Regions from separate parts of the Homo sapiens genome. Here all the other regions are linked to region 3. Evidence: promoter capture Hi-C in 16 types of primary human blood cells and fetal thymus (Javierre and others, 2016). All regions are on one chromosome and are shown on one strand. The core of a region is centred on a gene start or on the middle of the fragment in contact, and the rest is flanking DNA. Distances in the headings are between cores, read along the strand shown. Region 1 overlaps HIPK2 (homeodomain interacting protein kinase 2). Region 2 overlaps TBXAS1 (thromboxane A synthase 1). Region 3 holds the start of HIPK2 (homeodomain interacting protein kinase 2). Region 4 overlaps HIPK2 (homeodomain interacting protein kinase 2). Region 5 overlaps TBXAS1 (thromboxane A synthase 1). Region 6 overlaps TBXAS1 (thromboxane A synthase 1). Region 7 overlaps TBXAS1 (thromboxane A synthase 1).

Region 1 (3,623 bases), core at 1,049-3,548, 180 kb after region 3:
TCCTTTGATTAGATAATAAATTCTCACATTTGAAATCATTACAAAATGTATAGATAGACTGATGAAAACATTCTCATTATAACTATTCCTGCATAGGACGTTCCCTTCCCTCTTTATAATGAAGTCCAGTGGTTTTAGTTTGTTTCTGGGTGGGGTTAGTACATGTCTCATTCAAGTGTCCTCTTCCCACCAATTAGGTACAGCCTAATTGTCATTGTATTTCAGAGAAGAATGTAGTGGAGCACTTGTGGCCGTAGCATTGTGCCAGGTGTCAGAGGGGACCCAGGTCAAAGGTCCAGGCATAGCACTGAATACTTTGGCAGCCCAGGACTGCCTTTTACTCCCCATCTGCCTAGTCCAGAAATGGCCTCAGGTCCCTTTTTGATGACAGCCTCAAGTTGAGTGAATGGTCCATTCTCCGCAGTGCCCCCACACCACCACCCAGGAATACTGTCGGTTCAGTCCTCACGTGGGCTCAGCAGTCTCTTCACAAAGGGGACGGCCCTGCCCAGCCCCAGACTGAAGCCTGGCCTTGAGCAGCCACCCACACGTGGGTAGCCTTGGTCATCAGAAGGGTCCAGCAGCCTTGCCCGGCCCTTTGCCACAAATGGAAAAAAGCAAAAGCAATTTAAAATCTGACAATCAGCTAGATTGGAATCTCATTCCTAACGTATGAGATCTGAGTTGACACAGACTCTCAACATCTGTGCCCAGGAGAGAATTGAATAGCGTGTCTGAGAAGGAGGATGAGAGAGCCGTCTCTCCACCAGTCAGAGAGCTGACAGGGCTGAGAGTGGAACGCAAAGCCAGAGCATGTCCGTGCCTCTGCGGCAGCCCCTAAGGCCCCCAGAAAGAAATGATAGAACCGAGAGGCTGGGCAGCAGATGAGGACCTTCATGGGAACAACTCAAAGAAACCTGGGAGAGAGAGCCAGGTGCACAGGTGAGGGGCAGCCACAGACAGACAGTAGCAGTGGCTACTGAGTCCCACAGCATCCTGCAGTGAAGAGTGGCGGGGACTGCCAGCCTGCCAGGGTCGTGAAAATGTGCCGGACACATGAGGCTGAATAGGGAAGCTGCAGACTGAGGCTAGGGAGTCATCCAAAAGGCTTCAGCTGTCCACAGTTGTGACTGGGAGCTCCCAGAATAATGTTTTCTAGAGAGATCTAATGGCAAGTGCCTTAGAAAATGTCTTTGCACTCAAGAAGGTAGGAAAGTGTATTTGAGTCTGAGTAGGATAAAACAGAAACCAGTAGCTGTTTTATTTATAGAGAAACCACTGTGTAACTGTGATCACATTATTGTGACTACATTTTGGGATCAGAAAAAAAAAATGTGGGGAAATATGATTACTTGTTCTTAGAAGTCAGAATTATCATAAAATTTAACACAGTCAGTATTTATTGGCCCCACTAGTGTAAGATATTATGCTGGGAACTGCAGGTGTTACATAAATAAGGTAGACAGTTTGTGTCCTCATGAGGTTTGCAGGGTAATAAACAAGACGAAACACATACAAATCATTATAACACAAAACACAGTGTCAGTCCCATAAAAATGAGCAAAGTACCATGGGAACTCAAAGGGAAAATAGCTTAAGGGAATAGCAGGGGAGGGGGGCTTTGAAGGCCAAAGGTCTGGACAGGTCCACACAGTAGAGGAGGTGCGGTTGCAAATTCAAGTGAGGTGATTGATGGGGCAGAGCCTCCAAGGCAAGCGAACAGGATCAAGACCCCTGTGCAGGAGCTTATCCAAAAGGGGCTTCAGGATGGAAAGGGGGTTGGGGAGGGATCTCCCCTTACATGGGGGTGGTCAGCTTTGTCAGGAGATACTGAGGGGCTCAAGGGGAAGCATCAGTCCTGGGAAAACAAGGATGCACCCCCAAGTGCAGCCACATGGAGGGGTCACCTGGTCCCTCTCCAGCTGAAGAGCTTCCCCAGCCCTTCTGTGTCCCAGCTGGAGCGATGGAGACCTTCCCTCCTACACATTGATCATCCTTGTTCTCGAGCCTGATTTCTCCATGCTGTGGGCATGTTGATTCCCACCTTCTGTGTTCCCAGCCTCGTTTTCTATTTGCTACTTACCCCAGTGCCAGTCCTGTAACTTTGCCTAAAATGCTGGTTAATTCCCCTAACATGGCTCAGCCTCAGCTTGGCAGCCAGAGTCAGGCAGCCGATGACCTTCAGAGGGATGGCAGTGCCTCCACCACCAAAGGGGCTTTTAGACCTGATTGAGGGTGTCACTAAACCTCTAGGACTAGATGATATAGCCTAGAATTTTTAAAAGAAAGCCAATGCAAAATCATTATTCCTGACCCCACGTATGTGGCACTGTTGGTTGCACAGCAGATGGCTGGCCAGCAGCTCCACTCGTAAGAACTCCAGGGCATGTTGGAGGCAGATGCTGGGAGACACTGAGCTAAAGACAGGAGAATCATAGCAAACATGCACTGGGTGTTCCACCCGCACTAGCTCCTCCATCATTTGATGGGGCATGCAAGGCTGATATTTCTATTCCCATTTGATAGATGAAGAAACTGAGGCTCAGGAAAGGTAGGTGACTCACCCAAATTGATACAGGTTCTAAATAGCAGAATTGGGACTCAGGTGCCATGCTCTTGAAGAAATGTCAAACTTAATAACTGGCAAAAATAACTGATTTCAGTCATTCATTCAATGAATACAGATTCTATCCTGCTCCCTCCTGTGACTACCACTATGCCACTGTGTGCAGGTCACCATGCCAGGGCCATAGGGAGTCTAGAGTATTGTCCACTGAGCCCCCTCTTGGTGCTGGGCGTTTGTCAGAGTGCTGGAGCCATGGCACTGAGAAGGGCGGAGTCAGCTCTTTTTAAAGTAAGAAGGGCAGGGAAGAGCCAGGGAACTCCTTTTCAGTGAATTACTGTTGGACTAGGGGACTCTGGTCATGGCTAGAGAATTGGCCAAAAGATAAGACAAACAGATATTGTTCTGGGTCCCCCAGGATTAAGTAGTAGAACTGGTCTTCTTTTAAATATTTATAGACAATTTCGATTAGAAAAGCATTTAATTGTCTACACATACTGAACAAGCCATCTTTTCTCTCCTGGACTCTCTTGATCCACGTCTCCTGATCCAGACCCCCCTGCTATCTTTACCTTGTGTTGAAATGGTCTTGTAAAGGCTGTAGCATACAACCTTTAGTCATGAGGGTAATTTCTTTTTTTATTTTTGTAAGAACTAGAGACAGTGTCTCACTATGTTGCCCAGGCTGGTCTTGAACTCCCAGGCTCAAGCAGTTCTCCTGCCTTGGCCTCCCAAAGTGCTGGGATTACAGGTGTGAGCCTCCATGCCTGGCCGAGAGTAATTTTTTAAGTGTGTAAACCAAAGTGGTTCACATCAACTGATCATATAGAAATGATTTTGTCCAGCTCCATTATTCATTCACGCATTCACTCATTCAGTTACCTGGATATTTCTGGTAGGTGGGTTGTTCTGCTTAGGTCATCAAGTGTCTCCTGCAGGCTGCACTTCACTGTGCCTGTGTAAGCAGCCACTGTTTCAGCCGACGTTACCAAAAATGAAAACTTTAAGAAAATTGATTCATAAATATCATTCAGTATTTTAGATATAAAAACAGTTACTT
Region 2 (4,061 bases), core at 821-3,320, 220 kb before region 3:
TTTTTTTGAGACGGAGTTTCGCTCTTGTTGCCCAGGCTGGAGTACAATGGCCCGGTCTCGGCTCACTGCAACCTCTGCCTCCTGGGTTCAAGCAATTCTTCTGCCTCAGCCTCCCGAGTAGCTGGGATTACAGGCACCCACCACCACGCCCGGCTAATTTTTGTATTTTCAGTAGAGATGAGGTTTCACCGTGTTGGTCAGGCTGGTCTCGAACTCCTGACCTCAGGCAATCCGCCTGCCTCGGCCTCCCAAAGTGCTGGGATTACAGGTGTGAGCCACCGCGCCCAGCCAGAAACAGCCAGATTTTTATATGTTTTAGTATAGATGGATGCTTGGGCCCTACTCCCCAGTGTTGGTCTGAGGTGGGGCCTGGGCACCAGCTCTCCCTTTTTAGCCCCCTGGCTGTCCTAATGTGCACTCAGGGGCATAGGTCTTTCCGACTGTCTGTCTGAGACCTACCCTAGCGCTTCTCCACACCTGAGGAATGAACGGATGAGGCAGAAGGACGCACACACCTCCATGTCTTAGTCGAACCAGCGAGACAACAAAACTCAAGTCCCTATCCCACTCACTGGCTGGTCCACCCAGCAGTTGCTGGCTTTGTCTGCAGCTTTCAGGAATAGCAGGGACAGAACGGTCCTGAGCAAATTCTGCCAGCAGAGGGCAACAAGCGCATGCTAAATGAGGACTCCCCGTCCCGGGAAAGGACCTTGGAAATCCTCCCAGCCATCCTTCCTTGACAGAGAGGAGAAAAATGAGGCCCAGAGAGGAAGGCCTGTGAACCCAAAGTCTCAACATAGAATTTATTATAAGTCCTCTTTCATTCAGCAGTTCCTCAGCGGGCACCTTGGATGGGTCAGGTGCGGGACCAGGTGCTGGGGGTCCAAGGAGGCTCTGTCCATTGAGGAAACCGATTCCTAAACAAATCATGACATGGATGTGTAAAGTGTTATCGAATGTGCTTACGAGGAATGCAAAACCAGTTCTGTTTAGGAGATCCTTCATTTACATATTCAAGGAATACATATGGAATTGGCGAGCATGATTCACCAGGCACTGTGCTAGGCCCGGGAGACGTAACTTTAAAATGCACGGACATGTCCTAGCCTCTCGGAGCTTCCAGTCTATCAGGATGCAAACAAGTGGATAAGGGTGAGATGGGAGAACAGATGAGAGACACACATCTCCCACATTTGGGATCAGGGACTCTGTGAGGAGGAAGCGACAATGTCCAGGCTGAGATTTTTAGGATGAGTGAGAATAAGCCAGTGAAAAGTGGATGGCCTTGTTCAGAGGCTGCTGCAACCAACCTAAAACAAATATGAATCAATCAGGGAACTGTGAATCCAACAGGATATTTGATGCTCTCAAGGAATGAACATTCATTTTGGTTTTAGTTGATAATGGTATTGTGGTCATGTTTAGAAAAGAATTCTTATCGGCCAGTCACGGTGGCTCACGCCCATAATCTCAGCACTTTGGGAGGCCAAGGCAGGGGGTGTCACTTGAGGCCAGGAGTTCGAGACCAACCTGGGCAACATGGTGAAATCCCATCTCTACTCAAAATAGAAAAATAGCCAGGTATGGTGGTGGGCGCCTGTAATCCCAGCTACTTGGGAGGCTGAGGCAGGAAAATTGCTCGAGCCTGGGAGGTAGAGGTTGCGGTGAGCCGAGATAGTGCCACTGCACTACAGCCTGGGTGACAGGCCCTTGGCACACCTGGTCCTCTGTCAGTACATCCAGGCACCAACGTTACCAACAGCTAGTGAGGGTGCTGTGGGTCTGCTGGGCCTGGAGTGTCTCAAAAATGTGGGGGACTGAGCAGAATATTCTCTTATTTCAAGCCAGGAAGCACCTGAAGCTTCTATGTTTCCAAAAGATAACATGAAAAGCCATCCCCCAGGGTTCTCTCTGCCTCCTGTTTCAAAGGCCAAATTACTGAGAATTAGAGCTGGGGGGAAATCTCAAAATCAACCTTTGCTGTCCACACCCAATGAGGAAGCCCCCCCTGCAGCGCCTCCCCTTGACCTTGGCCTGGCTTTGGGTCCCACAAGGGAGGCAAAGGGCAGGGTTCTGTTCCGGGTCTGTAACCCTTAGCCATGGCCTTGGGCCAGTCGTCAGGACAGTATCTACAGGACCCCTCGTCTGTAATGCTGTCCCACCCATCTTGCAGAGTAGAGTGAACAAGAAGATGAAGGTGGAAGTCTTTGGCAACTGGAAAGTACCTCCTAAGCAGGTGATATTTCTGTTTGAACACATTCAGTGGCGGGAAAGCTTATTTCAACATGAGGCGCTCTGCTCTCTCTATTGAACTAGGCTAATAGGATGTGTTAAGGGAGAAAGAAATTCTAAAATCCTATCAAATTCATTTCAGCTGGGACTTATTTTATAAAATAACTGCTCTTAGAGGGTTGAAAATTAAATATTGGGAAACATGGAAATAAAATAAACAGAATCTTTACCTAGTGATTTACATTCTCAAACCAGAGTTTCTTCATTTTGGGGGAGACTTTTTCATATGTAGTTGATTTTCAATGGGCAGTAACTTCTAATTTTATTCCTAAGATTCTTGGTCTCTTAGTCTTTCCATCATATAGTTTAGGATCTAGAAACCAATATGTGTTTGTTTATTTTCTTGCTCTGTGGCCCAGGCTACAGTGCAGTGGTGCTGTCATAGCTCACTGCAGCCTTGAACTCCTGGGCTCAAGCGATCCTCCTGCCTCAGCCGCCAGAGTAACTGGGACTACAGGTGCAAGCCACCATGCCTGTCTAATTGTTTTTTGTTTGTTTGTAGAGATGCGGGGACATCTCACTATGTTGCCCAGGCTTGTGTTGAACTCCTGGACTCCAGTGATCCTCCAGTCTCAGCCTCCTAAAGTACTGGGATCACAGGCATGAGCCACTCTGCCTGGCCCAATATTTAAATACATTTAAATACAATAGATTAACCTGATGGTTTAGGGAACTAACTCTATGGGCAATCTATCGATAAATCCTTTTATGTAGGAAATAACAGTACTGCCCTCTCCTATTAATCTCTTTTCTATATTTATCATTTTGTGTATCATTTTCTCTGAAAGCTAGACACACACACACAGTCACACACCTACACATACGCCACACACTGGGTGTGTGTGCAGATGTCATCTGGAGTATAAATGAGAAAAAGAAAATAAAAATGTCATTGCTTTCACAAAGATTTTTCCTGGAGATTCACGGACCTAATAGAAAAATTATCATTTTTCTATGTTGTTAAAGGAAATAGAAGCAGAGGTGGCTTCAGTTTTCTTCTTCAGAGCAGTAGGAACAGCAGCATCTGTAGTAGTTATGCCTACCCAGCTGTCACTAGACTTGGTCTTATACTAAGAAGTAGGCCAAGTGATGCTGGCCCTTGCCCTCTAGAAGCCGGAGCTGGAAATCCCTTAAGCACGAGGACAGCTTGGGGCAATACAGCCATATGAAGAATAAAGATTTCCATTCACTCTGATTCTCCAGGGACCGTGGGACTATAATATGAAACCAAGCCGTGGAAAATGGGGTGACCTTCGCTTTGCCCTTCTGACCATAAACCAGAGGCAAAGCCCCTCACCCTTGCAACTGGTTTTTTGGAGACAGAGTCTTGCTCTATCCCCCAGGCTGGAGTGCAATGGTACAATCTCGGCTCACTGCAACCTCCACCTCCCGGGTTCAAGCGAGTCTCATGCGTCAGCCTCCCAAGTAGCTGGAATTACAGGCGCTCACCACCATGCCCACGTAGTTATTGTATTTTTATAGAGACGGGGTTTTACCATGTTGGCCAGGCTGGTCTTGAACTCCTGACCTCAGGTGATTCACCCACCTCGGCCTCCCAAAGTGCTGGGATTATAGGCGTAAGCCATGGCGCCCGGCCAGCCCTGAGTTCTTATGGCAAGGTTGGGAGGGAGCTGAGGTTCTCTGAGCTCTGACATTTCACCTTCTAGATCCCATAGCTCTGTTGTCTGAGTGGGTCCAGTGAGCAGTTTCAAGGCTTGCAGGGAGATACGATGGAGGTTTGGTTATGAGAGGGGGTGATAAATCTTTCC
Region 3 (3,638 bases), core at 1,139-3,638:
AATGGTAGCCACTAACCACCCATGGTTATTAAAATTAAAAATTCAGTTCCTCAGTCATACTAGCCACATTTCATGTGCTCCACAGACATAAGTAGCTACACTGCCATTATGGCAGCAAGTTCTAATGGCCAGCACTAGAAAGGGGCAGAGAGACATGCATGTAGGGTATGTATTAACAGGGAGTTACATACCTGTGTGGTGAAGGCTATGATAGAGATTTACAGATGCAAAAGGAGAACATTACTATTGTTCTCCTTCTCATAATCAAAATACAGACACTGAGGCTCAGAGAGGTTAAGCATTTTGACCAAGATCACATAGTTAAGTGGAAGAGCTAGGATTTGAACCTAGGTCTGACTTACTCCCACGCTATCTCGGGCTGTTTTGTGGAGGAGGTGAGCCAGGCACAGGTAGAATCTGCTTAAAGAGAGAAGATGGAGAAGGTACCCCTCTGGGAAAGTGGGTGGGAAAGTGACCGCTTGGGCAAAGGCACAGTGACAGAGATGGGTGAAGCTGGCACTGGGCTACAAGTAAACCAGTTTGGCTAGAGAAGCAGTGACTTGCTGAACTCATGTCCTTAGAAAGCTAAGTCAGGACTCGCCTGCCTTGATGAAAAGCCAAGGCACTCAGCCCCACCTGCAGAGGTTGAGTCCTTAGAGGATGTTAGCCAGGAGCGTGGCATGGCCAGAACCACGTATTATGAAGATGGCAATATTTAGGATGACCTGGGCCAAGACTAAAGTTAAAGATTGCAGGGAGGATAGAAGGGAAGGAGATAAATGACCGGTGTGGAGCAAAAAACACTAGAGTGGGAGCCACGAGACCTATTCCTAAGCTTCAATACTGTGTGACATTGGGCAACAGATTTTACTTCTCTGGACTCCATTTCTTCAACTCTAAAAGGGCAGGGCTGGCCCAGATGACCTCTGAGGTCCTTTTAGCAACAGTAGTCTAGGATTCTGCAAACGTGAATGGCATTAGGTTAAGAGAAGGGATAGGAAGTGTAGCATTGATTATGGGGGCAAGGAAGACCGCAGAGTACAAGATCACACAGAGGAAGGTGTCGTGATGTACCACTAAAAAAGTGTGAAAGAGCTTGCCTTTTTTGGGAAGGACTGAAGGATGGGAACGGAGGATGGAGACCGGAAAGGATAAGAAGTAGTGAGAAAATCACGAGGTTGTTTTTAAGAAAGTTATACAGTGTTAGAGATCATTATTTTACACAGATAGCTTTTCAACTTTTTTAAACCCACGATTCACAGACGGAAATAAAATTGACATCATGGTCCAGTACACTTGTCCAGTACCTATAATCGAAACAAAAGGTTTATGAAACAATAGTTGCCCTTACTAAGGGCAATGGACTCTAATATTTTCTATTGGATTCCATTTCGTTCTTTTTGAAAGCTGGTTGCCTTCCGCTGCATTTATTTTATGATCTATTACTGTGTCACGACCCACAGTTTTAAAAACAGTGCCTAAGAGGAGACTCAACAAGTCTTCCTAAGTTGGAGGGGATGGCAGGGCATCCTATCCAAGCATCCGGGAGGCAGCTGGAGAAGCAAACCTGGAGAGGCTCCCGGCTGGGGAGAGTCTGGAGAGTGTTTAGCGGAAGCCCTGATAGGAGAGAGCGCTGAGAAAAGCGAGGACCCAGAGAGTTGTGAGCTCCCATTCAAGTGATGGAGTGGCGGCCCTCGGGACAGTGTAGACGCGAGGAGGAGAAGATCAGGGTGGCGTGGAAGCCAGACTCCGGCAGGAACCCAGCGACCACCCCGGGGGCTGCATTTCCGCGGCGTGCACGGCAGGGCTTCGGTGCCTCTGACCTCGTGTGGCTTTCCGAAGCTCCTCCACTCACCCGCCCTCCTCCGGAGCACGGCGCGCGCCCACTCCTTCATTCATTCATTCCACTCCTACCTCCGCGAGCGCCAACCGGCTGTGAGATGGGCGAGCCACTTTGCCAGCGTGGGGCTCTCTTTCGGGTCGGTTCCCTCCCCGCCAGCACACGCGCGAACCCTCGCACCTGGGCACACACGCGCGCGCGTGCACACACACACACAAAGTTCTGGGGGCCCCTCTGCAGACCGGCTCGGCTGCGCTGGGCTCGGAGCCGTGCGCCCGCCGGGTCCAGGCCGGCCCTCTCACCCACTACCCGGGGCCCGCCCTGCGCCCAGTCCCCCCGCGCTGCGCGGCAGCCCCTCCCAGCGCGGTCCCCTCGGGCCGCCGGCGCGGCTCTGCCCTTCGGTTCGGCCTTCCCCGCCTCGCATCCGTGCCATCGGCGCTCGATTGCGCGCGGACTCCCTGTGGCTCTCCCGGCCCCGCGCCCCGCCCCCGCCCCCGCCCGCCGCCCCCCTCCGCCAGCAACTTTTGCGGAGCCCCCGCGCCCAGCCATGCTGAGCTGAGCCCCGCCGGCCCTGGCCGCGCGCTGCCCCCGGCTCCCGCCCCTCCGCGGATCCGCTCGGGGGCCGCGGCCGCTCGGCGCCTCGGCCTCGGCCGCTCCGCCCGCCCGGCCGCCCCGAGCCCCGAGCCCCGAGCCCCCCGCGCCGGGCCCGGGCGGCAGCGGCGGCGGCGGCGGCGGCGGCGCGCCCGGCCCCCTCCCCCGGCGCCGGCCACGGGAGGCGGTGATGCGGGCGCGGGCGGCCTCGGCTGCGCCGAGAGCGGAGACACAGGCTCAAGATGGCAGATTCCGACTGAGGCTGGGGGGGCCGAGCTCGCGCGCCGCTTTCCCGTCCCCGTTGCCATGAACCGCGGACACCCCGGCCCCGATGGCCCCCGTGTACGAAGGTAAGGGGCGCCCGGCCCCGCCGACCCCGCGCCCGCCGCCCTCCGCGGCCCCCGCAGCTTTGTTCTGCCCGCGGCCCCGCGCCCGCAGCCCCCGGCGCCTGCCCCAGCCCCCACCCGGGGCCCGAGGGGGCCGCGACCCCCTCCCTCGCCCGGAAGATGACCGGGACCCGGCGCCGGCAGGGTCTTGCTTCCAGGGCGGGGAGAGGGGCCGGGGGCGCAGGAGGGGAGGGGGCGTGTGCGAGGGTGGGCGGCTGCCCGGGGAGGGCAGGGACGCCGGGGAAGGCGGACCGGTGACTGTGCTTTTTATTTATTTGCGATAAATGAAGGTGATGCGGCTTAGCTTCCACCGCCCCCCCACATTACCTTTCGGAGCACCTCCTTTCCACTTCGCTCTCCGCCCCGCGCCCCTTCCCATTTCTTTCCGCGCCCACCCCACGCTCCTTTATTCTCCGCGAGCCTCCGATTTTGGGGGGGCTGTGGAATCGGAATGCACGGGGCTAGGTGGGGAGAGAGGAGAGAGATGAAAAGTCCATGTCAGAGCCAGGCAGAACAATGAAATAGGCGAAAATCTCCCCTCATTAGCGTGTGGAAGGGGACGTGGACTTTGGGTTTTCCAGCCGGGGGAGCGGCGGAGACGTTTTTCTGGCTCGGTCTGGGTCGATCTGTGTTGTGCACCTTCACCTGGCATCGGGGTATTTTTCCCCATTTGACTGCCTTTAGCAAGAAAGAAAAGAACGCAAGGCAGAAAAGCAGTAGGTCTGCCTCGCACACTGTCTTTCGTTTCTCTTCAGTCCGTTCTGTCAGCTTCCAGCCAGAAAGCAACCCAGAATCAACTAAGTTTTTACACTTCGATGTGT
Region 4 (3,755 bases), core at 1,204-3,703, 170 kb after region 3:
ATTTGTCCTGTCTTGTTAAATGGAAGTTGTTTTTGTTGTTGTTTAATTTTTAATTTAAAAAATTAAAAATTTAATTTTTATGTAATCAAATTGCGTAGGTTTGTTCTGTGCTCTTCTATTCCATTGGCTTCTCTAATATCCTGTTGTCTTAACCATTGTAACTTTAGTCTGTCTTGGTATCTAGTAGGGAAGCCCTGTTCCCAGAGAGTTCTTCAAATTTTCCTTGTCTGTTCTTGTCCCTTCATGTTTTTAAGTGAATTTTAACATCACTCTTTCATAAGAATTTTAGTTACAGAAACCAAAAATCTGCTTTATATTTACTGGATATACATTGAATTTATATTTACTTCAGGAACAACTGACATCTTTAAACGTGTAAGTCATTTTTATCCATGAACATGGTATAACACTCTGTAATGGGTGTGGTGGTGCACACCTGTAGTCCCAGGCCTGTAGTCTCAGCTACTCAGGAGGCTGAGATGAGAGGATCACTTGAGCCCAGGAGTTCAAGGCCAGCCTGGGCAACATAGTGAGACCCCATCTCTACAAAAAAAAATTAAAAATTAGCTGGGCATGGTGGCACATGCCTGCAGTCCCAGATACACAGGAGGCTGAGGCAAAAGGATCACTTGAGCCCAGGAGTTTGAAGCTGCAGTGAGCTATGATCACATCATTGCACTCCAGGGTGGGCAACAGGGTACGACCCTGTCTGTAAAGAAAAAAAAAAATTAATAGAAACACTTTATCATGTTTAAGTTTTGTAATGAATATTGAATTATATCAAATGTTCTTTCTGTATCTATTAAGACACTCATATGCTTTTTGTTCCTTAATCTACTAATGGGACAAGTTATATTAATATATTTTGTAATATTAAACTACCCTTTTATTTATGATATAAACTCCATTTGCTCATGTGCTTGATATGATATGCTTTTTAATATTGGATTCAGTTTGTAAGTACTATAGTTAGTATTTTTATATCTATGTTCATAGGTGAAAAATGGCATATAATTTCCCTTTTTATAAAATCCTTATCTGATTTGAGTACAAGGTTACACCAGGCTCATAAAATATCTTCTTCTTGTTGTTACCCACACGAGTGGGTTTGGTCACTTGACAGGTACCAACCCAATGACCACAGACAAGGATTTAGCAAGGGGATTGTATTACTTGTAACAAGTAAGGAGAACACTGGAGATAGTTCCCAAAGCAGTGTCTCTGAGCAAAGGGCTGGGTCAGGTTTTATAAGCATAGGGTAATGAGGCATGATCTGATTGGATCTTGCAACGAATTGATATCAGAGGCATGATCTGACTGGATCCTGCCATGCAGTGATGCCACAGCTCGATCTGATTGGATCCTGGATCCTGCCATGTGGTATCCATTTCTAAATTCCATTCACTCGCCTCAATCCAGGCACTTAGGTTCTGCCTGTTGTTACATACCTGGTTCATCTGGGCATGCTCAGGTTATGTGACCTTTAACCTGTGGATCCATGGCAAATGAAAAACAACTCACAACTTTGTTACATAAAAGTTGAACCAGACTGCTGTGGTTACATTATTATCTATTCTGTTTTCCGGAACAGTTTGTTTAAGATCGATATGAAGTATTCTTCATCTCTGTGCTTAGGTCCAGAATGACACTGTGCAGTTGACCACTAACACCAGTGACTGGTAGCACACAAAGTTTTGTCTTATTGAAAGTTTGTAAACAGAGAACTTTTTGTATTTAAAACAGGCCTTCTCTTCGTTCCTCTCTCTCCAATGGGTCCTTGTAGCTTCCTTTTATTTGCATAGTTCAGTAGCGGGGAGTTCAGAAAAGGCCAAGATAGATCAGAGAAAGAACTACAGCTCAGTCCAGGGGCAAAAAAGCTTCTTCATACTTTATCTGAGTGGCAAAAATCCACACCAGTCTCCCAGTGCTCCGCCTTTGTGAGCCCAAATCTACAGAACTCACGTGTGCTTTTAAAGGATAATTACAGATCTTTTTTATGTTTGCACACTTAACCCTAGTAAGCCAGGAGCCATCTCTGAAAGAAATAATAATTAGCATTTCTTATTAGCCAAAATAGGGATTCTTCGTTGTTCAGTTTGGTGGAACCAGTAGACTCAGCAGTCAGAATTTGTTTCAGTCCTTTAATCGTAGCAGGGGAGAACTTTACCTTTTGCTTCCTTGAAAGAGAGTCCCTAGAGTGTTGTAAATCTCCAAGTAGATTTAACCTAAAGCTGTAATTAGGAAAGTGAACAAAAAATACGTGTGTAAGGATTTTAATTGCTACTGTGTTTATAACTGAGATTGTTGGAAGAAACTTGAATGTTCGTCAGTAAGGGATTGGTTAAATAAGTTGATGCACACGTAAAATGGAACACCATGTAGCCATTAAAAGAACATGGTAGACCTTTGTGTCTTGACATGCAGAGATTTCTAAGATATATTAAGTGAAAAAAATCCTGCCCTATCCAGTATCGTGTTGTGTCTTTTTGTCAGTTGCTTTTTATTTTTCTCTCTGCTTGTCACTTAATCCATGCCAATATGTTAGCCTGTTGAGATGGGCTCTCTCCTAGATATTTTTAAACATTCCCTTCAAAGGACAAAAATAAGTTAATTTATAAAACTCTTATGGTGGCTATAAAAAAGCACAATTAAGCATTTAAACTGAAGGCTTCGTTTTTCTACAGTTAAATTTCTAGGCACCAGGCAGAGGCATTCCAAATCCTATTATTTGACATAAATGTATTCAAAAAGTTGACATTGTTCTTTTTCTCTAAATACTGAAAATCTTTTAAAGGATTTTACTTATGAACACTTAGAGATGGAGTCTTTGAATCCACTCCTCATGTTAATTTCATTTTCTTTGCCCTTTTCCTCCCCACCTCCCAGCAGCATCACATAAAACTTTCAGGGAAACAGGCCTCTGTGGGGCACCCAGAGGATGTGTGCATGGCAGGTGGAAATGGTAATCATTCTGCTTATGTTAGTGATATGGGAGTGATCTTTGTGGATCACCTTGCAACAAAAGCTTTTTTGGTACTGCCTAAAAGGAGCTGTCAACTCCATCCTCCCAAGCCCCATGCCACAGCTAGCATCTTGGCCACCAACAGAAATTGTGAATGAGTAGGTAATAGTGGAGAGATGGGAAGCACAGTTCTTGATTGAGACAGTATTGAATTTATCTGACTTGTCAAATGTCAGGATCTAAAATCTCCTTTGACTAGCAGGGTTAGAGAAATCACTGTAGACTCCACCCTTCCATGAAGTGTTTTGTGTTCTTCTAGCCAATCAAATCATATCACCTGAACCTCTTTATTTTTTACTTATTTACTTTATTTCTTGGGCTCATATTTGACCAACTGAGCCTTTAAATGTTTCCCTGAAAACAAACTGTTGGCTTGAACCCTTTAAACTGTTCGAAATACAAAATTTTAATGTTTCTCACTCAAAAGTTCCTCTGATAACATTTTCAGCAACCAGTCTTTCCAACCATTGTCCTGCTGTCTGCCTGTCTCTTGACTGGCACCTGATATTCTTAGAGAATAAGGAAGACTTGTTCATGCCACCTTTATGCAGTTACCACCAATGCCTGATCCTGAATAGGGGCCATTATTTTTGTGTATTATCAACACAAGGAGAGGTGTATATTGGCTGAAAGCATGGGCACTGGAATTAGGTTGCCCACATTCAGATGGCTGCCTCACCACTTACTGGCTATATGGCTTTGGGGAAGTTATTTTTGAAATTTAAATTTAATT
Region 5 (3,963 bases), core at 1,102-3,601, 160 kb before region 3:
CTCTTTGTGTCTGTGACTTTTTGTATGTGTATACGTATATGTGTATATATATTGGTGACTCTCTAAAGGAAAAGCCAGTTTGCTGTATCCTCTTATTTAATTTTTTCTTGATAGAATTATTTCCCTTTCATTTTTTTAGCTTAGTTTCATCATGTATCCTTAGGCAGAATAGGTAGAAAGCTTCTCGGTTCTTTGATTCTTCATACATCCATTCATTAATTGTTCCTGAATGTCTATTATGTACCTAGTGTGTGCAGTTAACCATAAAGAAAATAAGAAAAAAGCAAAAAGACTTTGTCCTCCTGAAGCATCCATCTAGCAGAAGGGGACATACAATAAACAGGTAAACAAAATGGAATGTTAGCTGGTGATAGTTCCACAGAGAAAAATAAAGCAGTGGAGGGTGGGGGTTCAGGGGCCAGGTCCTTCGAGCCTGGAGATGTAGTCGGTCTGAGGTGGTCAGAGAGGGGACCAACAGGAACACTCACTGTGCCGGGGCTTTCCACGCTGGCTCTCAGCAGAATCTTTCCAGGGAACTCGTGACATGCGAATTCTCAGTTACCCTTAGAAATTCTGACTATATAGATCTTGAGGTGGCTGAAATTATGTATTTTTAACAAGGGTCCTAGGTGATTCTCATGCAGCCCTTGGTCCCACAAGGTTTGAGAACCAGTGACTTAGAGAACAAAGGCAGCTGGGAGATTAAAGTTTGAGGAAGCATCCAGAAACCAGGAGGTTTTGGGGAGGAATATAGGACACTTCTCATTTTGTCCCCTCCACCCATCTTCCACAGCCCAGAAGCAGCCCCCCTGTCATTTCCTGCATCCTGTCTACACCATGGCTTAGAGCCTCAAACCCTCTGCTCTTCATATGCAAAGGGGAGCTGCTTTTGGAATTAGGAAAACTCTTTCCTCTCCTAATAAAGCTTGCTAACGTACAGTTCAAAATCAAGCAACTACTTCCTTGTTCTGGATGGCACCTACTGTCTTCCTCAGAGGCACCTTCAGGAGCACCCACTGGTGCCATTGATTCCGCGGGTGCGGGAAAATTACAGGGAACACGATCTATGGAGCATGAAACAGACATACATTGGTTTCACGTTTCAGAAATATTATCTTTGCTGTGCACTTTTTCGTCCTCGTGTTTCTTTCCATGTGAGCAGCATTTAACACCTCTGGCTGCTCCTTCCTCTTTGAAATGCTTTCCCCTTCCACATTCTGCTGGTTTCCATTTCAGGCTGTTCTTCCTGAGTCTTCTTTATAGGTTTCTCCTCCGCTCCTCCCTTAAATATGGTTCTCCCCAGAACCATATCTAACACATATGCTACACGTCTCTGTGTTTTGAAGACCATCTTTCTTCCCCCTCCCACCTGAGTGCCATCTGCACAGCCAACTTCTTCTTGAAGGGTCTCCTTAGGGGCCTTCCAGTAAACTTCAACTCGCCAGGTCTAAAATCCCCAGAGGTGGGGAAAAAGTTAACTTCTCCTGCCTCTGGGATGGAATCCTTTCAAACGCAAACCCAAGAACCTAAATTGAACTATATGGAGTAGAAAAAAATGCCTTTCAAGGGAATTTCAAGGTTATTGATAGTGTATGGTAAATAATGGGCTCTATGAAATCTCTCTCTACCTCTTGGCTTTTTTTTTTTTTTTTTTTTTTTTGAGATGGAGTCTGGAGTCTTACTCTGTCACCAAGGCTAGAGTGCAGTGGTATGATCTTGGCTTACTGCAACCTCTGCCTCCTGGATTCAAGCGATTCTCCTGCCTCAGGGTCCTGAGTAGCTGGGGTTACAGGTGCCTGCCACCACACTGGCTACTTTTTGTATTCTTAGTAGAGACAGGGTTTCACCATGTTGATCAAGCTGGTCTTGAACTCCTGACCTCAGGTGATCCACCCGCTTCGGCCTCCCAAAGTGCTGGGATTACAGGCGTGAGCCACCTTGCCTGGCTTCTCTTGGCATCTTAATGCCGTGGACATATTGAGGAACTCTATTTTCTGCAATTAATTCAGGCACTATGCATTTGATTTCTGGACTAGAGGGAGAAGACTGGACTCCAGGAGCACTGGATTTGCTTGGGAAACGACAATGTGTCACTTTCTGGAGTATCCCCTGTAAGGGGTTAAAGGAATCTAGACCATGATAAAATTCCTTATCAAAGAATCATAGCCCAGGACTGCTAAACCTTATTTTCCTTTCCTTGCTTCCTTTTCTTCTTTCTCTTTTCTTCTTTTCTCAGATACTCTTTACCAATTTCTTTTTCACACATGAGGTTCTTTCTACTTCTATAGTGCCATGAAGCCATTGCTTTTGAATACAGACATATACGCTAGTGATGCCAGCCCTAGGCTCACCTACCTCTCCTCTCTTCCCCCGGTCTTCTCTTGGCTGACTCAACCTTTTAGTGGCTGGATGTGATAAAGGGGCACACTCCAGGCAGCTAGTCTACATGGTTTAGAGCAGTGGTTTCTAGCTTTAAGATGCAGGCCCTTCCTTCACATTCTCCTGTGAATCCTCAATAGATAACAGAGATCAATGTGAGCAGGGCTAATTGTTGCAGTGGAAGCAGGTGCCCCTTTCCTCTCATGTCCTTGTGGGGAACTTCTACTGGTGGTGGTTCCCAATACTGGCTTTACGTGACAATCACCTGGGGAGCCTGAAAAAAATATCCTCAAACCCAGGCTGCATCCCAAAGCAAACCAAGCGAATGAGAATTTCTAGGTGTGGGACCCAGGCAGCAACAGTTTTCAAAGCCCCCCAAGTGATCCCGGTGGGCCCCACTGGCCAACCGCTGCATCTAAGTCACTCTCCATCTCCTGCTGTCTACACTGTATCAGACCCAGTCTTGGAGGAAGGAATTGAGCACATGTGGGCCGCGGGCCAGCCCCGATGGCATCTGCCACCCCCCTGCAATTGTCCCATTCTGGGTGAAGTATTAGCATAGCAAGCCCATGTGATCAGATGGGGACTCTATTTTTCAAACAGCTTTACCAGTAAGATAAGAGAAAATTTTATTTCCTTTGCCTAAAACCTCTTTCCATACCTCAGTTGGTTCCAAACTTAGGCAGAAAATAGAGAAGTTTTGCTTCTGACCCTCCCCCACCCCCCAGCTTTCCACCGAGGCCCCATTTGCTACACTTCCCCTTCCTGCATCCTCCAGACAGCCCCTGGCACAGTCCTACGTGGCCTCCGAGCACCACTGGAAAATCACATGGAGGTAGCAAGCAGTCAGGCAGAGAGGTGAAGAGCGCTCCGGAGCTGGATTCTGATTTTGGCTCTGCTGCTTACTAGCTATGAGACTTGGAGCACGCTACTTAATCTCTCCGTGCCTAGTTTCCTCCTCTGTAAAATGGGATGGTAATAATAAGGATGATGGTATTTATCTCGCAGGAATGTGGTGAAGAGGCAGTGTGTTAGTCTAAACAGGCAACCCTTGGTACCTGACTCTGAGCTGTGTGAGTGTGAGCAGGTGCTGCATACAGAGACAGGCTCTGCCCCCAAACACCAACAGCTACCCATGGAAATGCAAATCAAAACCTCATAAAAATGGGGGGATCACTAGCTTCTGAGTGAGTTTAATTGGATATAATGAGGTGTGGAACCCCCTCCTCTTCTGGGGGACTTCAGAAGATTTATAGGAATTCAATCAGGACCATATGGATGAGCATCTTGAGCTTAAGCTAAAAGTAGCTTTCATTTTTATTGAACTGAAGACAGGCTACTCTGGAACATCCAGACAGGGTGGATGGCAGAAGCCCAGGGCACTCAAGCCAAGCTTTGGAAGCTCCCTTGCTCTAGAGATGCCTGTGTACCTGAGACTGGAACTAAAGAAGCCCCTTAGCCCCTTCACATCATAAGGGCTCAAGTTCTCTCTCCCTTGTGGTTGCACAATTCAGAACAGCAAACACCAAAGCCAGACCAGCAATTGAGGGGGCTGTCAGGCTTAGATACAAAACACAGCAGTCA
Region 6 (4,117 bases), core at 984-3,483, 180 kb before region 3:
GAAGATGAAGGCCTGGCCCACAATCTCATCCACAGTCAAAGGCCTGGCCATAGGGCTGGGCTGGTGTTGCCGGGAAGGGTTCGGCTTGCACCCAGTAGAGGAGAAAACGTCTCTGACGATGTCAAAGTCTTGCACGCCCATGGGACTTGCAGAATGTCGGGCATCCAGGACCATTTGGAGGAAGTCTCTCCGCCTCTAAGGAACAAAAGGAGAAAAATGCACATTTTGACCTTACAGTCATGAAGAGTGAGGCTTCCTGGAGAACAAAGGAGGAAGATACATGGGCATAGCTTTTGAAGAGCTCAGTAGCAACAAGCTTCCTCATTGCTGGGTTATCTGGGACGGTGAGAACCTGGAAGCCACCTGAATGTCCCTTAGTATAGCACTGGTCAGGCAGGTTCTGGGGCAGTGAAGAGCAGCCTGGGCTGCTGCCCTGAGCAAGGCAGAGGCCATTCTATCTGGGCTGATGTGAAAGTCATTGAGCCACTTTGTTAAGTAAAAACAAAGCCGGTCATGGAACAGTATGCACTGTGGCTCTCGTTTCTGCAAAAACAGCAAATGTACTAAATATATCATCACCTATATCTGTCTACACATAGACGATTTTAGCAATGTCCCCACCCAACAGTTCATAATGAGCTGGAGGAGGTGGGAAAACCAGGAGGGGGGCTTTTATTTTTTACTTTATACATTTTTGTACTGTTGGTTGGTGGTTGGTTTTCCAACAATAAAACAATGGCAACATCACATAGATAGATTTAAAACCAAGCATGTGCTGTACTGCTCACTTCTGTGCAGCTTAGGGCTTAGATGGGCAGCCACCAGTTTTTCTCACACAGTAGGAAGTTAACAGAAGTGAGGGCAAGGCGAGGGGACTAGTTTGGCGGCGCCTGTCTTCAAAGTCTCCAGGCTTTGCCTTCTTCATCCCCTAGCCTTCATATCAGATCTTCACATCGGTTCCCTCTATTTCTCAGTAATCCCCTGCCCCCGTTTAAGTAGTCAGAGCTTTTTTTCCATTTCCCCCTACCTTCTTTATCAGTCATTTGCATATTCTTTATATTTTCACTATTACTAATTGTAACAATAGGAGTGTTTCTATATCGCCTCTGTGTTAACAAAGCTTATTCCTAGAACATCCCTTCTTTGAAATGCTCTTTAATGTCATGAAGGACAACCAAGACATTTCCATTTTCTGAAGTTTATGGGACTAAAATGGCAAAAGGAGAGTATCAGAATCACCAACAGAAAAATATTAGAATTTCATGCAAAGTACTCTGCTAGCTGCAGCATTTTCTCAGTTCACTGGCTTCTGAATTTCGATTGCATTAATAATCTATGCCACACACATGAGCGTCTGATTTCATCTTTTTTTTTTTTTTTTGCTCTGTCACCCAGGCTGGAGTACAATGGTGTGATCTTGGCTCACTGCAACCTCCACCTCCCAGGTTCAAGTGATCTTCCTGCCTCAGCCTCCTGAGTAGCTGGGACTATAGGCATGTGCCACCACACCCGGCTAATTTTTGTATCTTTAGTAGAGGCGGGGTTTCACCATGTTGGTCAGGCTGGTCTCGAACTCCTGACTTCAGGTGATCCGCCCGCCTCAGCCTCCTGATGATTCCATCTTTTAAGATTGTTGTCATTTCATGTGTGGTTGCTTTTCCTCCTCCATAAGATTATAAGCAACTCCAGGGCAGGACCCCACCCTCAACCCCTGACACCGTGCCTAGTTTTATGCTGAGCACATGTTAAATCTGCAGTCCATGACTCAACAGATAAAAATGTAATGCAGTGCGTGCATTTGGAGGATGGGTATGCTGAGTTTGATGACAAGTGAATGCTCTTTAGAGCGGGAGTCTTGGCTGCTGACACCTTTGCAGCTCTACTGCACCCCAGCCTTGTGACTTTGGAAGGTGCCTACTGGGATCCTAGCAGTGCTCAAGGTTAAGACTATGGGTGCCACAGACCTTGAGTCTAAGGAAGCAAGGCCTCAGCTTCCCAACAGCCTGCTGGGTTGTAATAGCTGAGAAAATGGTGAGGGTCGGGGGTAGTTGGTGGCTTCATTCCACCCTGGCCCTGCTCGTTCTGATTTTCAAACAGCATCCTCAAGGGCTGGCTTTCCCCAGCTTCCTTCCTGCTGCTCGGTCAATGGGCGCTGGTGTGGTCCCACTGCTGGCCCTGCTCCCATGGAGCAGAGCTGGGGCAGGGTCAGGCAAGATGGCACGCAGGGGAAGTGAGCATCCCTTGCTCCCTCAGCTCTGGGACACCAGCACAGGACCCCAGAGCACCCCCAGACCTCTCAGTCAGTCCCTCTGAAGGTCCTCAGGGTGTGATATCATTGTGGTCCCTGAGGCTTGGCTATGGCTTTGCTGAGGTAGTGTAGGAGTAATGATGGGAGGGAGGGCACAGCCACCTCTACACCGGGTATTTTTCCATGGGCAAAACTGCAGCCAGCATCCTTTCCTCTTATCCCAGCCCAGACAGACTGCTAAAGGGCTGTCAGAATCTTGCAGAAATCTGTCTTAACCTCCAGCTACAGAGGCCAGAGGAAAGGCCACTCTCCAGGGCCCGTGCACTGGAGAAGAACATTAGTATAGATGGGTTTCTTTTATTCACATGGCATCAGGGAGGCTATCTGAACACTGCCCATTGAGGACTGAAACGGTGCTGGTTTATGGTCCTATCCAAGGAAAATACGCACCCTGATAGATGTAGGTGTCTAATCCACCCATCGGCTAGAGCTTAGAAAAATATTTACCTTTTAACATCTGTGCCGCATTTTCACTGCGCAAACACACATCTGCTTGATGGAATGTATACAGACTTTAGATGGTTTTAAAGCAAGTTTTCTTAGTAACCGTATAGCTCTGTCTTGACATGGCTGTCCTGGATTTGTGGTTGGGAGATTTTTCTCAGATCAACTCATTGTTTGAAACAAATAGCACTAGAGTTTATAAAAGGAAAAGCTCTAGGCAATCCCAGTAATTGGATCTTTAATAACCTCTCACCTCTTAGTAAGTCATTCGATGCAACAGTTTTAAAATTTTTAGCCTGATTCCACAGCCAGGCTAGGGATGCGTGTGTGTGTGTGTGTGTGTGTGTGTGTGTGAACACTCTCAAAAGGTGGCCCTTAGTAGCAATGTTGAGGGTTGAAAATGGTTCTTTCTTTATCCCTTCTCCCCCTGGCTCCAGCCTCACTCTGCGGAGAAACATGAACCTGGATCAGAATGTTCTGTCCTTTTAGGCTTCAGAGCTGGGGCAGGGATGCCAGTTAGCTGCTTCTTCCCGCACCTCCAAGGACATGCGAGTTGAGTTCACAGTGGTGTGGGCCGAGGGGGCTGCAAGCTTGCCTACACCTTCCCATGCCTTCTGGATCTAGACACGTTTGCTGCACAGTTCTCCGGGCGTGAAGCTGCACAGGACGCGGCTGCTGCCCAAGGCCGCTCGGTGTATCAAGCCACTAATTGACCCCTGATTTCATTTCAGGCCAGTGCCTTAACAATTGGCCCTCACCAATTCCTCTGAGCCATCCAGTCTTTGAGACAACCCTTTTAAAGTTGCATCTTGCACGAGCCAGCTAAGGAAAGGCCATTTCAGCCCTGTTTTCCTTTTTAGTAACTTTCTTTAATGTGACAAGGGCTTTAAAGCCCAGATTTACATATGCATATGCATATCCAGTATTGAAATGACCTTTCTTCCCACTGAAAACTCCTCTTTCTATTTTAGCCAAGTTCAATCAACAAATATTTACTTGATTCCTACTATGTGCCAAGCATAGTGCAAATCTGCAAGGAGGAAAGAAAATGCTACGTCTCATATGAATCGTGCCAAGGAGTCCAGGGGGCCCTCAACCACGAGTTCTGTAGCGACATCCTCCATGCTGAGTGGGAGTGTGGGGTTAGTGACTGACAGTTGCCGAACTCTCTAATAAGCATGCTGTTCATGCTGGAGAACTCCATCTTGCTGGGTTTTCAATATAAAGAATATGCTCATGAAAATTGCATGTGGGCACACTTACCCAGAAAATTCTTCTGGGCTATTCTAACCTGTGCTTGGGTTGATGCTTGCACTAGGGAGACAGTTTTGGGGGCGGCTTTAATTCTACCCGTCCGTGTCCGAG
Region 7 (4,059 bases), core at 725-3,224, 240 kb before region 3:
TGAGGACTCAGTTGGGAATCTAGCAAGAGGGTTTTTTGGAGGACCAGGCGGTGCGGTTCCCTGCCCTGTGATACCTGGTGTTGGATGTGAACAGTGGGATTTAAGCAGAGGTGGGGTTGGTGGCCTCACACAGTAGAAGGACTGGAGTCCAGTGACCCCAGCACATGAGGAAGCCTCTACCACTGTGTCTGAAGGTGGTGACCAACTGAGCTGGGAAGGCGAGGGAAGCTGGATGGAGCTGACAGGCCGGGGGGCGGGGCCGGAGGTCCCAAGGGAGGACTCAGGTTGTGGGGCTGTGCTCCAAGCAGGGAGCTGAGTGCGCCATTGGGCCTGTCTGCAGGCTGAGGTTCTATGGTGGCGGCAGCCGTGGGGAGGTCAGGGATTGTGGGACAGGCAGGGAGGCCGACAGGTTCCCAGGGGTGGATGGTTTTCTCCAGTGAGTCTGAGTCCCAGGCTGGGCATTGCAGAGGGGCCAGGTGATGGAGAAGGGCAGGTGGTGGCAACAAGGGTGTGGGGAGGGCCACAGGACAGCCCTACACCTTGAGGCAGCAGTCACTCACAGGCCTGGCCCAGTGCTGGGCAGCTGGGGTGTCCTCTTCCTGCCTGGAGGGCCAGAGAATAAGAGAAGGGGCCCCCCAAGGGGGATTTTGAGGGATACAGTGGGTGCTCCTGGCTGAAGGGGATGGGGGACCACCAAACAGTGGAAGCAGCAGTCCCAGCAGTGAATATGTGGAAACTCATTCTGCCAACTCTCCCAAAATGGCCTGAAGTTTCTAAAGGTGGGTCGTCAGCATCTGGGTGTCACATAAGGGGCTTACAGATTTCTACAAGATCGTTCTCTATACAACATTCAACCTCTTAAAGCTGCTCAGGTGTCAACTAGAGGACAAGTGGTCTTTTGATCGAGGCCAGCCTCCTTATTTTACAGAAGAGGTCTCTGAGGCACAGGGAGGTGATACGGCTCTTCACCAGCAGCCATGAATGCGCAGCTGCTGGTGGCTGATCGTGAGACTGACCTTGCAAGTGCTTGGTTGAATGTGAACTGCTTAGCAACACAATACTTATTTTTACAAAAAAAATCACCTCTATATTTTGATTCTTTGATCAAAATTAATATACAGTGTTTTTTGTTTTGTTTTTGTTTTTTTTGAGATGGAGTCTCACTCTGTCACCCAGGCTGGCGTGCAGTGGCGCGATCTTGGCTCACTGCAACCTCCACCTCGCTGGTTCAAGCAATTCCCCTGCCTCAGCCTCCCAAGTACCTGGGATTGCAGGTGCCCGCCACCACAGCCTGGCTAATTTTTTTGTATTTTTAATAGATATGGGGTTTCACCATGTTGGCCAGACTGGTCTTGAACTCCTGACCTCAGGCAATCCACCTGCCTCAGCCTCCCAAAGTGCTGGGATTACAGGTGTGAGCCACCGTGCCCGGCCGATACAGTGTTCTTTAAAAGAAAAAGTATATCATTTTTCAGACTCTCATTTTTCTGTCGATTGAAACTTGACTGTAAAGTTGGTACTACCCTACCTAGGAAAATCAAAGCATAATAAAGCTTTGGAACCACTGCTGAGGTTGAACTTTCGATAAATGTCATTCTCTACAACTCCACAATGCACGAGAAGCTGAAAGAGCCACGAGCTAGTGCCATCAGGACAGGCTTACCTGGGGGTCCTCATGTGCCCTGCACCATGGATTCCTTTCAGCACAAGCCTGGGACTTCCTTTAAAACCCCACATTCTCAGTTGTTTTGTCAAAACTACATTTTCACTTATTTATCAGCAATTCTTCATTTAGAGAGAGCACTGGTTCAAACCCCATTGGCAATGTCAAAACCAAGTGCAACAAACGTTTATTAAGCATTTAGGAAATGTTATGTAAAGAACCTCTTATCCTTGCATGCCAGGCACTCTTTCAATCACTTCAGTGACATTTTTCCAAAATTCTGAACATCCACACTTAGGGTTTTCTTTGAATTTGGGGGTGCCCTCCCCCCACCCGGCAGCCTTCTGTGTCAGCGGGATACGATCTTGATATAGACACCATTTTTTGGACCTAGGGCAGATTTGGATTCTAGCTGCAGCGGTACCTAAAATAGAGAAAATTAAAATATTTGTCAAAGAGATAGTAGCATCTCACTGTACAAATGAAGACTTGGAGGTTCAAGAAGGCCAAGTCCGTTGTCCAAGGTCACACAAGAAGAAAGCAGAGAGCAAAGCCCCAAACCTATCTTTCAGTGACTCCAGCCGTCCCTGCTGATCCTCCCCATCTCACTCTCCAGTTCTGGCCAGTAACTGAGCAATGCCCTCTGGCCCAGGGGCTCTGGGGAAAGCAGCTTCATGCTGTTCCTGCTCATGTGTGCTGTGGTCTGGCCTCACTGACATCCAGAAAGCTTTCCTATGTCCAGCTTAAAAGGCAGAGCCAGTGGTGGACTGGGGACTTTGAAGAAAAACCAAAGAATTACTCGAGGAGTTGGGTTTCCTCTGGAGCTGAGTAAAATGATGAGCCAGTGGCTAATGTGACAGCAAAGAGTCACCAGGGTCTTAGTGCTTGGGGCTGTACGTGTCTCCTGTGGGAGCCATAGCCCTCAAAGGCATCTGAAAAAGCTGCAGGCCCCAGCACTTGTCTGAGCAGACAAGGAAGAACGGGGAGCCCTTGACTCCTGGCTGGTTCTTAAGCCGGGGAGTGCCAGGCATAAGCAGCGTTTTGGGAGACTGGTCTGGCTGCTGCACTGTATGTTGAGATCGTGGGGAAGTGAGACAAGCCCCGCACACGTGGAAGCCCCGATGCAGTGGGGCTGCTCCTCCGTCTGCCCCTTGACCTCACTTGGTTTGGCTCTGCTCTGCCGATCTGCCCCTCCCTGTCTCCAGCCCAGAGTATGTGGATGCGTTCACTTTCAGTATCTCAGACTCTATGTCCCCCATCCAAGCTCATTATTCCTCCAGGACCAGCAGCTGGTCCCAGGTTCTCTGTCAGAGGCACTGCCTGTCTCAATCTAGAATTGTTGCTATCTGTCAACTGTGTCCTTATGCCTTCCTATGCCTGCCTGTCCAGGTCTGCAGCTGAACAGTGGGTTCCGGGTGGCAGGACAAGCATGAGGATAGGTGCAGGGGACAGCAGTGGTCAGGATAGGCAGGGAATAGCTAACGCTGTGCAGAGACGTAGCCAGATGTCAGGAAGGAGGGAGAGCTTGGGAGTGGGCAGGATCTGGGTGAGGACCCCCGTTTCTCTCATCTCTGGCTGCTTATCCATTTGCTCATTAATGTTTGTTGAATGAATGAGTGAGCACCTGTCATGCGCCTGGCATTAAGCTAGATGCTGGAAAGTCCAACAATGAATATGACAGACTGGGTCCCTGCCATCACGAAGCCTGCAGTCCTGCTGTGTGGCCTTAGGCAAGTTATTTAACCTCTCTGAGCTTTGATTCCTCATCTAAAGAATGGGAATAGTCACTCCTACTCTGCAGGGTTGCTGTGAGTGTGAAAGCAGGGGATATAAGCTCCCTGACCTGTTGAGGAATTGGTCTGCTGGTTCTGGAGTGTGTGATGTGGGGGGGAGATAGGGCTGGAAAAGTGGGTGAGGCCCCATTTCAGGAGAGCTCAGCTCTCTGGGTGAGGACAGGGTCTGTGCACCAGTCTAGGACCTCAGGAATGAAGGCATATGTTGTTGGGAAGAGGCTGTGTCACCACCTGTGAGAGGGACCAGGCTGTGGCCATGGGGACACGTGAGTGTCTGCACAAGGGGGGAAGGCAAAGCTGGGGGTACCGTTCAAGGAGCTGAAACCCTTCAGCTTCCCCTCCAAGCAGACAGCACCTTGCTCTGTCAGGAGGAGCCAGAGGAAGTGTCCCCACCTTCTGTAGGACAAGCCATGCACCCCCCACCCCGCAAAGGCAGGCACATGTCACAACTGCAAATGCCATTGTCTGTGTGCCCTTTGTGGAAGTGGGAAGAGCTACAGCAAGGTGAGGTCCAGCCCTGGTGTGCAGAGAACAATACTAATAACAATGGTTAACACGTGCTCGGGTTGGCTTGCCAGGGCTTACCTGAGCGCTGTGTGAACT

The links. The method cuts DNA at HindIII sites, captures the fragments that hold promoters and counts their contacts. A CHiCAGO score of 5 or more calls a contact.
Region 1: a fragment that was not itself captured here is called in contact with the fragment with the promoter of HIPK2 in region 3 in 1 of 17 cell types (M2 macrophages); the score reaches 5.4 in M2 macrophages.
Region 2: a contact is called between a fragment that was not itself captured here and the fragment with the promoter of HIPK2 in region 3, in 17 of 17 cell types (M1 macrophages, megakaryocytes, endothelial precursors and 14 more). The highest score is 33.1, in M1 macrophages.
Region 4: a fragment that was not itself captured here is called in contact with the fragment with the promoter of HIPK2 in region 3 in 5 of 17 cell types (endothelial precursors, M2 macrophages, megakaryocytes and 2 more); the score reaches 8.8 in endothelial precursors.
Region 5: a fragment that was not itself captured here is called in contact with the fragment with the promoter of HIPK2 in region 3 in 9 of 17 cell types (monocytes, M0 macrophages, M2 macrophages and 6 more); the score reaches 19.1 in monocytes.
Region 6: a contact is called between a fragment that was not itself captured here and the fragment with the promoter of HIPK2 in region 3, in 7 of 17 cell types (monocytes, M1 macrophages, endothelial precursors and 4 more). The highest score is 13.1, in monocytes.
Region 7: a fragment that was not itself captured here is called in contact with the fragment with the promoter of HIPK2 in region 3 in 2 of 17 cell types (monocytes and M1 macrophages); the score reaches 6.0 in monocytes.

The regions. Positions count from the first base shown.
Region 1 is chr7:139,592,168-139,595,790 of GRCh38, reverse strand. The region is part of intron 12 of HIPK2 (homeodomain interacting protein kinase 2); the gene reads left to right. LOC105375530 (a long non-coding RNA gene) reads right to left here. Exons shown (of 4, transcript XR_001745383.2): 2 at 3,446-3,564. Among named protein-coding and RNA genes, the nearest start is that of CLEC2L, 70 kb to the right of the region's middle. The HindIII fragment of the contact is 7,922 bases long and covers 1-3,623 here.
Region 2 is chr7:139,999,071-140,003,131 of GRCh38, reverse strand. The region is part of intron 9 of TBXAS1 (thromboxane A synthase 1); the gene reads right to left. Among named protein-coding and RNA genes, the nearest start is that of PARP12, 62 kb to the left of the region's middle. RefSeq lists an enhancer at 450-509. The HindIII fragment of the contact is 413 bases long and covers 1,864-2,276 here.
Region 3 is chr7:139,776,748-139,780,385 of GRCh38, reverse strand. HIPK2 (homeodomain interacting protein kinase 2) reads left to right here and starts at 2,388. Exons shown (of 15, transcript NM_022740.5): 1 at 2,388-2,781. The coding sequence starts at 2,763. It also overlaps a transcript of TBXAS1 not described here. RefSeq lists silencers at 2,043-2,272, 2,703-2,792. The HindIII fragment of the contact is 7,054 bases long and covers 838-3,638 here.
Region 4 is chr7:139,608,517-139,612,271 of GRCh38, reverse strand. The region is part of intron 9 of HIPK2 (homeodomain interacting protein kinase 2); the gene reads left to right. All of the region lies in intron 2 of LOC105375530 (a long non-coding RNA gene), which reads right to left. Among named protein-coding and RNA genes, the nearest start is that of CLEC2L, 87 kb to the right of the region's middle. The HindIII fragment of the contact is 1,148 bases long and covers 1,880-3,027 here.
Region 5 is chr7:139,937,068-139,941,030 of GRCh38, reverse strand. All of the region lies in intron 5 of TBXAS1 (thromboxane A synthase 1), which reads right to left. LOC105375532 (a long non-coding RNA gene) reads right to left here. Exons shown (of 2, transcript XR_928043.3): 1 at 1-3,963. Among named protein-coding and RNA genes, the nearest start is that of TBXAS1, 110 kb to the right of the region's middle. RefSeq lists an enhancer at 2,375-2,875. The HindIII fragment of the contact is 2,847 bases long and covers 928-3,774 here.
Region 6 is chr7:139,957,997-139,962,113 of GRCh38, reverse strand. It overlaps TBXAS1 (thromboxane A synthase 1), which reads right to left. Exons shown (of 13, transcript NM_001061.7): 9 at 1-195. Among named protein-coding and RNA genes, the nearest start is that of PARP12, 100 kb to the left of the region's middle. The HindIII fragment of the contact is 2,222 bases long and covers 1,123-3,344 here.
Region 7 is chr7:140,018,053-140,022,111 of GRCh38, reverse strand. TBXAS1 (thromboxane A synthase 1) reads right to left here. Exons shown (of 13, transcript NM_001061.7): 13 at 1,819-2,087. The coding sequence ends at 2,013. Among named protein-coding and RNA genes, the nearest start is that of PARP12, 43 kb to the left of the region's middle. The HindIII fragment of the contact is 837 bases long and covers 1,556-2,392 here.